Linked DNA regions of Homo sapiens: all the other regions are linked to region 2. Evidence: promoter capture Hi-C in 16 types of primary human blood cells and fetal thymus (Javierre and others, 2016). All regions are on one chromosome and are shown on one strand. The core of a region is centred on a gene start or on the middle of the fragment in contact, and the rest is flanking DNA. Distances in the headings are between cores, read along the strand shown.

Region 1 (4,268 bases), core at 965-3,464, 930 kb after region 2:
ATGCCTAACAGCACAGCTTCATTTAATTCACAATTTGTAACTTGTGAAAGCTTTCAGGGACCTGGCTTAAGTTGTCCTTTTTAGTTGTTGGTCTTTTTACAAATTATGTATCATAAAACACTTGCCCAGCAAAAATGTAACTAGTGTGGCTATGGCAAATTTGTTCTTCTTTGATATGTTAACTTATATGAATTAATGCAGTTTATCTTTTTTTTTTTTTGAGACGGAGTCTTGCTCTGTTGACCCGGCTGGAGTGTAGTGGTGCGATCTTGGCTCACTGCAACCTCCCTCTCCCGGGTTCAAGCGATTCCCGTCTCAGCCTCCAGAGCAGCTGGGATTACAGGTGCTGATCACCACGCCCGGCTAATTTTTTGTATTATTTTAGTAGAGACGGGGTTTCACTGTGTTATCCAGGATGGTCTCCATCTCCAGACCTCGTGATCCACCCACTTTGGCCTCTCAAAATGCTGGGATTACAGGCGTGAGCCACCACACCAGGCAATGCAGTTTATCTTTATGCAGTTGACCTTGAAGCATTTAGGTTTACTTTAGCCACTAAGAGAAATAGGTCTCCTTGGGTTCACAATGTAGTGAATAAACAATTTTGAGTTCAGCAGGGCCCTGAGGCTGCTCCTGAACTCTGCATGAAGTCATGGAGGTTACTGTTTTAAGTAAAGAGCCAAGAGTTAAGGACTAAGAGAAGCCCCCTATTATTCTGAAAACTTGGATGTGTGCGCTGGATGAGACAGCGGTTGCAGTCCCCATTGATAGTTTTTTCCCCCTGTCATTCTAGGCTAAGGAGTTAGGACTTAACCAGTTCCAGTTCCAGGCTAATGGAAAATTGTCATTTTACTGGGGGTTATGTGGTGGCCAAAGTTGTTAATCATTGTTCCCCATGGGGTAGATACAGTGAGAGCTTCAGTAAAGCCTTTCCTCTAAAAGCCCACTATTTTAAGGTAACTTGGGATTACTGAACTATCTCCTTACCCCGATGAATCCTAACTTGAGTTGACTGAGGTGTTTTATCATTAAACATTAGTTTTACTGAAACTAATTTAAAAGGAAGCCTTAACTTTCATATCAAACAGCTATGGTAAACTGAGTAAGAACTCTGTACGAAGTCGCTATTAAAATGTTTTTATCTTGCTACCAGGATATGGATGTAAAATGCTAATAACTATTACACAACCTATAATAGTTACAGGTTACAATAGGGATAATAACACTTTAACCCACAAAGACTAGCTTAGTCCTACTACTTATCTATGAATAATGCATGTAGTCAATAACACTGGAAGGGATAGAGCATTATAAACTTATAATTCAGAGATGAGAAATGGTGCCAGTAATTTAAAAGTATTTCAGGTCTCATAATGCTAAAACAGGGTGTAGGTATGCCCTACAATTACAGAGAACTCAGTCGGGCTTGAGGAGAACAGCCTCACTTAATTGTAGTTTTCCTGTCGGTGTAAGGTGCCGGCGTTTCTTCATGTGGGAGGAGACTGAAATTCTAAAGGTTGTGTGGTTAGTAAAATTAGTCTGTGACCTCGGGAAACTAATGAGTCTTTGGGGCCTCAGCGATCTTCATGTTAAGGAATATTTTAGCCAGGAATTGCTTCATTTTCAATTCTTGTTTAGGGCGCTCTTAGGAAAAAGGACGCGTACGCTGCACAGAAAGTAAACAATAGAGCAGAAAGAAGAATCCGAAGGTCATTAATCTTAAAATAACCAACCCTCTGGAGCCAACTTATTTCTCTCTTTAAATTGCGGAATGAGCCCCATCCCCCTGCTGGATTAAACCGCAGAGGCCCAGGCCTCCCACCGGGTGTCCGCTGCATGAACCAGTCGCATGCCTGTTTCCTTCTCGAAACCCTCACAGAAAGACCCAACACACTCTAGGAAATAAACCGTCAACGTCAGGAGACGCTCAGAACCCTCTTCCCACACCCGGTGGTCCTCGCCCAGAGCATATTTCGCCTCCAGACCCCAGGATCCGGGAAATGGAACAAAACTCCCCGGCGGCGGCACTCACGCACTTTCCGGCACGCCGGAGCCGCAAAAGCCTCGACCGCTACGACTCCTCTGTCCGTCTACTGCGAAGCGGGGTGGCGTTGGGGGAGGTGGGCAACCTGTCAGTAAAGGGGGCGGGGCGCCGGCCGGAAGAGCCTCCGCGCGGCTGCGCTCTTTTCCTGGAGCTCAAGTGGGCGGGGCCTGTCGTCCGGGCAACCCGGGAGCGTTTGTCCACACAATTTCTGCTCCGACTCTGCGGACTACTGCAGTGGAGCTTGACTCTTAATGGTGAGCAAGGCAAATGAGGCAGACAGGTGGAGGGGCGACCACTGATTCTGCTTCACCAGTGTTAAATAATGTAATCAAGAGCCAGTCATATTTTACAGCGAAGCGGGTCGGTTTGGGAAATAACTCATACCTTGGGGTGGGTCGGCCCTCTTCTCAGCAATGGCTTTCCTTACCTGGACCAGGCGGACAGGTAGGAGTCCCAAACCAGTTTCTGCAAACGGGAGATGGTCAAAGCTGTCACACGGTATCCTGATCTCGAATGTTGCTAAGCTTGAAAATTGGTCCCAACCTAGTAACTTTCAGTAGTGATAGACGTTCCCACTAAATTTTCTTATTGCAACTTGGCGGAAATGTTTTAGTACTTCTCCAGCAGTTAATTAAAAGCTAATGCAATTTACTCTGCTTTGAAAAAATATTTTATGTCGTCTTTTGTGGGAATATGAATTGTTTTGTGATTCAAGGTTCTCATCCTGCATTAGTTAAATATGATAAGGCTTCTCATTTTGTTTTTCTGCACTCCTCAACTGCCATGTTTTCAGCAAGGAGACAGGCCAACATGTAGCTATGAGAGTATCTCTGATTTTCTTAAATGTGGTTTCCATCAAGACATTTTCTATAATTAAAACCAGAGGAAGTGGAGAATGTAATTACTTATTTAATTCATTAATTAAGGGAAAAATGTGGAGTGCATTCTTTGTACTTGGCACTGGGCTAGAAGCCAAGAATACCAAGAAGAACATGACGACAACTCTGCTTATAGGATACAGATTAAACAAATTAATTACAATACAGCTTTACAACTGTAACAATTGAAGCATCTAAAATGGGGTAACACACAGTTGGAAATGATGAAATTTCAGTGAGGGGAAACAAGGGAAGGAGAGTGGTGCTTTTCAACCTGTTTTAAAGTATAAATACGAGTTTTCCACATATGGTGGGAAGAAATAGGGAGTGGAGGCCTGGCGCGGTGGCTCACCCCTGTAATCCCAGCACTTTGGGAGGCCGAGGCGGGCAGATCACGATGTCAGGAGTTCGAGACCAGCCTGGTCAACATGGTGAAACCCAGTCTCTACTAAAAATACAAAAATTAGCCGGGCGTGTTGGCGCGCACCTGTAATTCCAGCTACTCAGGGGGCTGAAGCAAGAGAATCGCTTGAACCTGGGAGGCGGAGGTTGCAGTGAGCCGAGATTGTGCCACTGCACTCCAGCCTGGGTGACAGAGCGAGACTCCGTCTCAAAAAAAAAAGAGAAAAAAAGAAATAGGGAGTGGAGAGCATTCCTGGCGGAATGCAAATGGACCTTAAGTCAATTTATAATTGCTAATAAATTGGGGGAACAGTAAGCACTTACTTGTTACCTTCCAATTTGTTACCTGAGTTTCTTCTTCTTCTTAGATCCTTCTCCCAATGTTTCTCAAAGTGTGGCCCATGGAACATTTATTTCTAATGCACCCGGAGTACTTGTTAAAAATGCAGATTCCAGGAACCCACTCAACTCCAAATCTACTGTATTAGTTTCCTAAGTCTGCCAAGTAAGGAATTGCCACAAACTGAGTGGTTAAAGAAAAGAAATTTATTGTCTCGTAGTTCTGGAGACTAGAAGTCCAAGATCAAAGTGTCAGCAGGTCTGTGATACCTCTGAGGGCCTTAGGGAGAGATCTGTTCAGACCTTTCCTGGCTTCTAGTAGTTTCTTGGTTTGTGGCAACAAAACTTCATTCTTCACATGGCATTCTCCATCTGAGTATATTAAAATTATTATTATATAAGGACACAAATCATATTGGATTAGGGGCCCACCCTATTCAGTATGGCTTCATCTTAATTTAACTAATAAAATCAGCAGTGACCCTGTCTCCAATTAGATCAAATTCTGAAGTACTGGGGATCAGAATTTCAACGTATGAATTTTTTTTCTTTTTTTTTTTTCTTTTTGAGACTGTCTCGCTTTGTCACCTAGGCTGCAATGCAGT
Region 2 (4,009 bases), core at 21-2,520:
CCCCTGGGAGTCCCTCAGGACATGCCTTCCCCTGGGCTGGCAGGGCGGCGTGGGCAGTGCGCATCCCCGGGCACCTCCCGGTAACTCTCACTAGCAGTGAGTCATGCTCCCAGGGTGGCTCTGGGGAAAGGTAACCCGGCTCTTGCTGGCCTGTGATTCCCGGCGCCGAGCGCCGCGGCTGCAGGGCGAGCGCGCGCGCGCACGGGTTCCCCGAGCAGTGATGTGGCAGCAGCGGCAGGTCGGATCACGTTGCTGGCCCTGTGCTGGTACCCGTTTGAGACCGGATTAAGGAGGGAGGCTTTGGAGGTGCCAGCGGTAGTAAACGTGGGCTCTGCACACTCCGGGCGTCTCTTATCGCGCGGGGGGGCGGGGGGATGGGGAAAGCACGTAGCGTCACCGGAGGCTCAGAACGCGGCAGAGTTGAGCGGGCGGGTGATAAATGCTGCATAGCTTTTCTGTGGTAGCCCCTCTCGTGCCACCCCCTCTCGTGCCACCCCCTTCTCCCTTCCCAGCCCCCACTCAACCCCGGCTCGCTCCCCGCCGCGTTCCTCCAGGAGCACACGCGGCCCCAAACGTCGTCATCTGCTGCTGTGATTAGTGGCACCGCAATTCCGGCTGCTGCGGGGAAGTTTAGTTGGCCCAGGGACGCCGTGTCACCGAAAGACACTTGGATTGCGACATTCGGACCCAGTGACAACGTTTTCATGTATCTTAAATCCTTCAAGGAGCGGATTGCAAGTTGCTTCTTCTCGAGGCAACCTCTCCACCCAGCGCCAAGGAGTCCCTCCAGGCCACTGATCAGTGAGCAAACAAGTCTCCAAAATTTCCTTTGGGACTCAAGTTTACCCACCGCGAATTCTCTTTTCACTTCCTTTCTATGGTTCAAACCAACAGCACAATCGGTGGAAAAGCAAAAAGCCACGTTCACATTCCTGCACCGTAACAACGGACGAACCCAGGGAGTCGCATTTTGGAGCCAAGGAAGCTCAGGCTGCCCCGCACCCCTGCACCCCCACTCCCCCCTCCTCCTGCCGACTGCATCGCCTTTGGGAAGATGAATAGCTTGGCCGAAGTTGTTTTTCCTTTCCGGTGGCCCTGATCAGGTGTCCCCGCCCCCTCCTGCCGTTCGCCTTCTCTCGCCGCCTTCTCCCGACGCCCCCGCCCGGCCCGGCCCCTCCTCCCCCGCCCCCCTCCGGGCTGGACCGCGGATGGTACGTTCCGCACGTGAGCTGGGTGCTGGTCTGGCCGGCGACGCGCGTGCCCTGTGGCCAAACACTGCCTGGAGTGAGAGCAAACTACCAGCGCAGTGGGGCCGGCGCGAGTGTGCGTGTGTGTGCGTGTGTGTGTGCGAGCGCGGTGGAGGGGGGGGACCAACTGCTTCACACTTTCAACACTGCACTGAAGAGGGAGAGCGAGAGAGAGACTGGAGACGCACAGATCCCCCCAAGGTCTCCCAAGCCTACCGTCCCACAGATTATTGTACAGAGCCCCAAAAATCGAAACAGAGGAAACGAACAGCAGTTGAACATGGACGAAGGAATTCCTCATTTGCAAGAGAGACAGTTACTGGAACATAGAGATTTTATAGGGTAAGGTGCACGCACCCTTGCGAATATCTGTCTAGGCTTTGGTTTGATTTTTTTCTTCTCCAGAAAGTGGTATGGAGCTGGCGAGGGCAGAGCCCCTCCCCGAATGGGTGCCTGATGCTGATTTCTGTTTTGCAGACTGGACTATTCCTCTTTGTATATGTGTAAACCCAAAAGGAGCATGAAACGAGACGACACCAAGGTAAGTGTAAGTTCCCGATATTCCTCATAACCTGCATGGGTAGTTAATTAGAGCCATTGATTTCACAGTGAAGCTCTGCCCGCAAATATATTCCAGCCCCTGAGCTTCCCCAACTGTGAATTTTAAGTGGCTTGCTGGGTACTCTCAGGGGGATATTAAACATCATACCTGAATTTAAATTGCATTGCAGAACAGTCCAGAGGAAAGAGGTTTCTTGGGTGTAGTTTATCACATAGTATGTTTTATGGTGGGGGGGCGGGGGGGGCAGACGAGGGTAATATCCAATAAGTGAATGTTTCGCTTACTGTTTTCTCTTTTCCATGACTCTCATATATTAAGGATACCTACAAATTACCGCACAGATTAATAGAAAAGAAAAGAAGAGACCGAATTAATGAATGCATTGCTCAGCTGAAAGATTTACTGCCTGAACATCTGAAATTGACAGTAAGATGCACATTTTCATTCTTTGCTGCTCTCCAAGGGCGTGTTAATAGTCTGGTGCGACTCCCAGAAAATATAAGAATAAATGTAAATATAAGTTCCTGACTTAAAACTTGTGCTATACCGTACAGAGTTTCCCGCAAACTGGAGTAGGTGCTCCCAGCTGAAGGCAAGAAATCATTTATAACCTGTCTTGTGGAAAGCTCAAGAAGTAAAAGAACAGTACTTCTTTCAAAGTGTTTGCTTAAATTGCTGTGCTGAATGGACAGCCAATTAAGCCAAATGTGTGTTTTTAAGTAACCAAGTGCCCGTTTCTTTTTTGCACCACTGCAGACTCTGGGACATCTGGAGAAAGCTGTAGTCTTGGAATTAACTTTGAAACACTTAAAAGCTTTAACCGCCTTAACCGAGCAACAGCATCAGAAGATAATTGCTTTACAGAATGGTAAGTCAGTTCAGGGAGGCCAGCCTACCCTGATGAAGCGGGGCAGCCCACAGGGGAGCAGTGTCAGGACTCCCTCACCCGCACCCCATCTCTTTCCGTGGGCTCATGGGTTCCCTCTCATTTGTTAAATTGCTTATACTTTCCCTTCATTGGAACGAGCCCATTTCCCGAAGCATCCTAGAGGCTTTCAGCAGAACTCGGAGGAATCAGGATTTAAAGTGGCGGTTGCACCCGCTCCACTTTGGTTTTCAGCTGGGAGGAGAGCGCCCTCTCCCCGCTCCGCACCTCCGCCACCCCGCTTCTCTCGTCAACTGGTGGATTATATCACTTGAATACTGGGGAAAAACCGAGATCACTTTAGTCGATGCAGGGCCCACGTGATAAGCAGATGTTTTAACGTGGGTATGTTTCTTCTTGCCTCCACTCCTCCGTCCCCCACCCCCATCCCTTCCTCATCCTAGGGGAGCGATCTCTGAAATCGCCCATTCAGTCCGACTTGGATGCGTTCCACTCGGGATTTCAAACATGCGCCAAAGAAGTCTTGCAATACCTCTCCCGGTTTGAGAGCTGGACACCCAGGGAGCCGCGGTGTGTCCAGCTGATCAACCACTTGCACGCCGTGGCCACCCAGTTCTTGCCCACCCCGCAGCTGTTGACTCAACAGGTCCCTCTGAGCAAAGGCACCGGCGCTCCCTCGGCCGCCGGGTCCGCGGCCGCCCCCTGCCTGGAGCGCGCGGGGCAGAAGCTGGAGCCCCTCGCCTACTGCGTGCCCGTCATCCAGCGGACTCAGCCCAGCGCCGAGCTCGCCGCCGAGAACGACACGGACACCGACAGCGGCTACGGCGGCGAAGCCGAGGCCCGGCCGGACCGCGAGAAAGGCAAAGGCGCGGGGGCGAGCCGCGTCACCATCAAGCAGGAGCCTCCCGGGGAGGACTCGCCGGCGCCCAAGAGGATGAAGCTGGATTCCCGCGGCGGCGGCAGCGGCGGCGGCCCGGGGGGCGGCGCGGCGGCGGCGGCAGCCGCGCTTCTGGGGCCCGACCCTGCCGCCGCGGCCGCGCTGCTGAGACCCGACGCCGCCCTGCTCAGCTCGCTGGTGGCGTTCGGCGGAGGCGGAGGCGCGCCCTTCCCGCAGCCCGCGGCCGCCGCGGCCCCCTTCTGCCTGCCCTTCTGCTTCCTCTCGCCTTCTGCAGCTGCCGCCTACGTGCAGCCCTTCCTGGACAAGAGCGGCCTGGAGAAGTATCTGTACCCGGCGGCGGCTGCCGCCCCGTTCCCGCTGCTATACCCCGGCATCCCCGCCCCGGCGGCAGCCGCGGCAGCCGCCGCCGCCGCTGC
Region 3 (4,139 bases), core at 1,257-3,756, 810 kb before region 2:
CCCAAGACAGCAACTGCCAGCTGTTTACTTTTAGATTTTGGTTAAGAAAAATTTAAGGAAATTCAAGTCAAAATTTTCAAGCCAACCTCAGAAAATAAATAGGAATATAAATGAAATGTAAGAGAAATTAAAGACGAAAAAAATTTCAAATATTTTCTAGGTAATTAATAAAAGCCTAGCAACCATTTTAATTAGGCATCACATTAATTGTAAGATCAATGAATGTTTACTGATTGGACACTTCTGTTTCCCTTATCTGCAAATCCACTACTCCTACCACTACATCTACACAGAAATATTGTGGCTACTGATACACCACAGATCTGTCTTTAAATGTCAACAATCTAGTTTAAATTTTTTCATGTTCAGGTATGTGTCTCTAATATTAATTAGTACATAATATGAACTGACCCATATGGAAATAAAAAAACCAAAAGGTATAGTTATGGTTTTCATATAAACTTATAATCTTATGAATGCAAGAAAGAACGCATATAAATTACATATAAAAATAAGCATTTATAAAGGCACATCGCTGTATGTGAAAGCAAAGAAAATTTTCACTGTCCTTGAAAATAGTGGAATGAATACATGTTTGGAACTGTATAAAGACACTTTCTGAAGAAAATTAATTTTTAAACTTGGAAGAAAGATTTTGGAAGTAATGACACTGGAGGATTTTTTTAAAATTACACGTTCCCTTAGAATTGTGGCTGAATATAAGTTTCACATACATATGTTCAAAGAGTTGTGACAGTTCAAGAAGGAACTAACCTAATCTAAACCAGTTATTTCTAACCTACAGGCTAAGGAGTCAGTAGAAGAGTTGCCTGAATGCACATACTCCAAGCACTGTCTGTAGTCTAAAACATTTCTGCTCCATTTCTCAAATATAAATAGATACTGTAAAAATAAAATACAAAATCATTTAAAAGCATAGTAGTTTTCTGTCATTATACATAATTTCAACCAACAATTACTAAAAGTCCAATTGCATGTGTATTAGAAGTACAGGGTTTCTCATAATCAAAATAGGTCGGGACCTTTAAGCTAATGTACAGAGTTCCTTCTGGCCCAAAATTCTATGATTTTAAAGGATGAAGAACTCTTACGGTGAATTCCTTAGAACTATTCCATTTCAATAAACATACATATGTATATATAAATAATGCTTGCTATGTGCCAAGTACTGGACTTTTTCTCAGAGATGAGTAAGACATGATTCCAGACAGACCCAGGTTCAAATTGGCAGGAGAGACAGAAACAAATAATACAACCTAATAAATACTGCAGAAGAAAAGTTTCAAATGCGTTGGGAGCACAGCGGTATCAATGTCACCTGGGGGAGTCTGAGAAGACAATGATTTATGAATTGGGTTTTGACAGGTGGTAAAATAGAGGAACAGTAAACATCCTAGACATCCGCACGTACAAAAGTACAGAGCTGTCAAAGCGCATGGCATGTTTGGGGAAATAGCCAGTATAGTCTTGTATGGTAGGATATTAAAGCAGGACTAAAAGGTAAAATGGATTGGGGCAGACTGTAAAAGATCCTGAATGATGATGTGCTTAACAATTAGGATTTGATGCTGTCAGCAATACGGTTACTAAAAAGTTTAAGGAAAGGACAGAGATAAATATGTATTTCAGAATAACTCTATGGAAGGATTATAGTAGGGAAACCAGTGGAGGGCGGGGGGCAGAGGGGGCAACCGCACTAATTCTGGCGAAAAAAAAAATAATACAGTGCAGTGTTAAGTGGAAATGAAGAACCAATGATGATTCCTGGTTTTCTAGTTCGGATAGCAGGACAGATACTGGAACCATTATCAGAGATGGGATAGAGAAGAAAGGCAGGAAGAGAACCAGAAAAGAGTAATACCCCTTGGAGAGCAGTTTCAAGAAACAAGTTATCTTCATTAAACGCTGCAAACAGGTGACTGAAAGGGTCCCCCGTCCGGTGGTGAACTCGCAGGTGGGTAAGGCAGGATGAAAGCAGATACGGAAGGTGTGTCCACAGGGTTAGAGCCAAGGCTTTTCATTGAACTTTCCGCACCGCATCTCCATTAAGAGGAGCTCGGAGTCGGGGGGCGCGGAGAGGAAGTCCGGCTCCCAGGAGCAGGGAGCCCGCGGCGGGAAGCGGACAGGGCCGGGCGCCGGTGGTTCAAGAGGCGCAAGGCACCGGCCCCGGCGAAGGACTGCCCCGGCAAAGGACGCCTCCGACTCGCCCACCCCTGCTCCCGTCCCTGGATTTAGTCCACTTACTCTGCTCTTAGTCCCTCGCAGCCTTCAGCTGTGGCGATGCGGACTCAAACCCTCTACCAACCGGGACCTATGCACTCAAGGGAAGAGACTCCGCGCCCCCCTAATCCGCCTCCTCAGCAAGCAGACGCAGAATCGGACGGAGGCAGCGGACGGAAGGCCGGGAAGCCAGTGGCGTTCAACGCCATCACCGGCGGGGTAGACACCTCCGCCGACCGCCTCCGACCGGCGCTCCCGGAGAACTCCAGCCTCGCGAGATTTCTTTCCTCGCGTTACTGTGGGGCAGAACCGACCACTCTCCGCTTTGCCCCAGAAGGCAGGGCGGGGCCCTTCTATGTCCCTCCCTATTCCTCCCTTCCCAGGCTTTCGCTCGGCCTCTCGCAAAGTCTCGCGAGTTTTTCCAGGGGAAACCGGCCTGGGTGGAGAGACAGAGAAGGGGAGACCGGGTGGGTGGGTCGTACGCTTAGGGGGCCGTGGTTGGTACTTCGCTGTTGGGGAGGCTTTCAGGTCGCCCAGATCCTGCTTCCCAATGGGTGACTGGGAAAATTAGCGGGTGGAAAATCTCGAGGGGTGGAGGCTTTTTTTTTCCTCCTTGGCCCCGCCCTCTTCCTGTTCGGCGACTGGGACGCCTGGCCCTACGAGGGGGAAGGGAGGCTTGGCCGGGCTATCGGAGAGCGCTGTGCGCACGCGCGAGCCCGAGTGCGTGTGTGTGTGTGCACGCGCACGCGCGCTCCTGCTCTTAGGAAGCCTGGGAAGGACCGGTGTGCTAGGAGATGATCGGGGAAAGCATAGTCCCCTGTCTGTGGCACCAGACACTCCCGACTGTGCGCTGACTCTCCCCGCCCAGCCAGCAGCCTTTTCCAGAGAGGCTGTGGTCCATAGCCTCTGTTCGTTTTCACTGCAGGACCAGGCACGAAAGTAAGCGAACCTCGATCCTGAGGTCTTCCCTATCCACTCACCTTGTATTTTCCACCCCCCACCCTCCAGCAAAGTGGGTCTAGAAGGTTTCTCAAAGAGAGTTTTGCATGAAGGGGAGATGCGTCTTGAAAGCAAGAGGTGAAAATAGCTGGATCGTAAGAAATCAGTTCGTTTTGATTTAACACTTTGGCTTTGCTTGCCATGTGCTTTTCGAATGTGGATTGTCTATTCAGTATAAGATTTTGTTAGCGAAGCAGGGGAGTACCGTATGCTCTGTTTTAATAAGAAAAAGTTTTAAAAGTTTTAAATTTCCTTCTACACACCAGTGTGATGGTAACAACTAAGTTTTTCTGCTCTACCTGGTAAATTACTGTGATGTTTCAAAAGCTAAGGGGAGAGTGTGAAGTTGGGGTCCTTATCCTAAGGCGAAGACCTGATGTGCGGTTATCTTAGGAGATGTTTATCTTTGTTTTGGCCTTTTCTTTTGCTGTCACTCCTCTTTCCTGTTAATTCCGCACCCCTACCCGCCAGTCCCCCTTCAAACGTTTTTCTTGGAGGGAAGTGCAAAAATGCTGGCTTGGGGTTTATATGTGACTAATGTCAATTAGCAAGGATCATAAAGTTGTATTTCAAGAGTCTTTGTCACTTATGTTTCGTATATGTAAGGGAATCAAATACAATTAAATGTCAAAATGTTTCCCTCTGACAATTTTAAGTTCATTTTAAAAGCAAAACCAAAAATGCATGCACTGGTATTTTTGTCTGGGCCTGGTAGAGTGACAGCCTAATATGGTGTATTGATACCCTTGCTTTCTGGTCATGACCTCATTAAACTGTCCTTTGTCGGACAGATTTCTTTGAACATATTATTCATGTTCCCTACCAAGTCTTCTTGAGGGAAAGACAATCTTCTTGAGAAAATTAGAAAAAATGTAAGATGTTATGTACAAATATTTGGC

Evidence for each region. Contacts are between HindIII fragments. The CHiCAGO score rates a contact against its expected background, and 5 or more counts as called.
Region 1: the fragment with the promoter of DNAI7 here is called in contact with the fragment with the promoter of BHLHE41 in region 2 in 4 of 17 cell types (total CD8 T cells, naive CD4 T cells, fetal thymus and 1 more); the score reaches 6.4 in total CD8 T cells.
Region 3: a contact is called between the fragment with the promoter of FGFR1OP2 here and the fragment with the promoter of BHLHE41 in region 2, in 5 of 17 cell types (fetal thymus, monocytes, total CD4 T cells and 2 more). The highest score is 7.2, in fetal thymus.

Annotation. Positions count from the first base shown.
Region 1 is chr12:25,193,106-25,197,373 of GRCh38, reverse strand. DNAI7 (dynein axonemal intermediate chain 7) reads left to right here and starts at 2,214. Exons shown (of 16, transcript NM_018272.5): 1 at 2,214-2,298. The coding sequence starts at 2,296. It overlaps ETFRF1 (electron transfer flavoprotein regulatory factor 1), which reads right to left and starts at 2,137. Exons shown (of 3, transcript NM_001001660.3): 1 at 2,037-2,137. RefSeq lists an enhancer at 1,777-1,896. The HindIII fragment of the contact is 2,518 bases long and covers 53-2,570 here.
Region 2 is chr12:26,122,298-26,126,306 of GRCh38, reverse strand. It overlaps BHLHE41 (basic helix-loop-helix family member e41), which reads left to right and starts at 1,270. Exons shown (of 5, transcript NM_030762.3): 1 at 1,270-1,589; 2 at 1,725-1,788; 3 at 2,128-2,235; 4 at 2,566-2,677; 5 at 3,139-4,009. The coding sequence starts at 1,528. It also overlaps a transcript of SSPN not described here. The HindIII fragment of the contact is 3,679 bases long and covers 1-2,625 here.
Region 3 is chr12:26,936,837-26,940,975 of GRCh38, reverse strand. It overlaps FGFR1OP2 (FGFR1 oncogene partner 2), which reads right to left and starts at 2,506. Exons shown (of 7, transcript NM_015633.3): 1 at 2,266-2,506. It overlaps INTS13 (integrator complex subunit 13), which reads left to right and starts at 2,995. Exons shown (of 17, transcript NM_018164.3): 1 at 2,995-3,180. RefSeq lists a silencer at 2,073-2,142 and enhancers at 1,672-2,180, 2,403-2,452, 2,181-2,690. The HindIII fragment of the contact is 20,390 bases long and covers 1-4,139 here.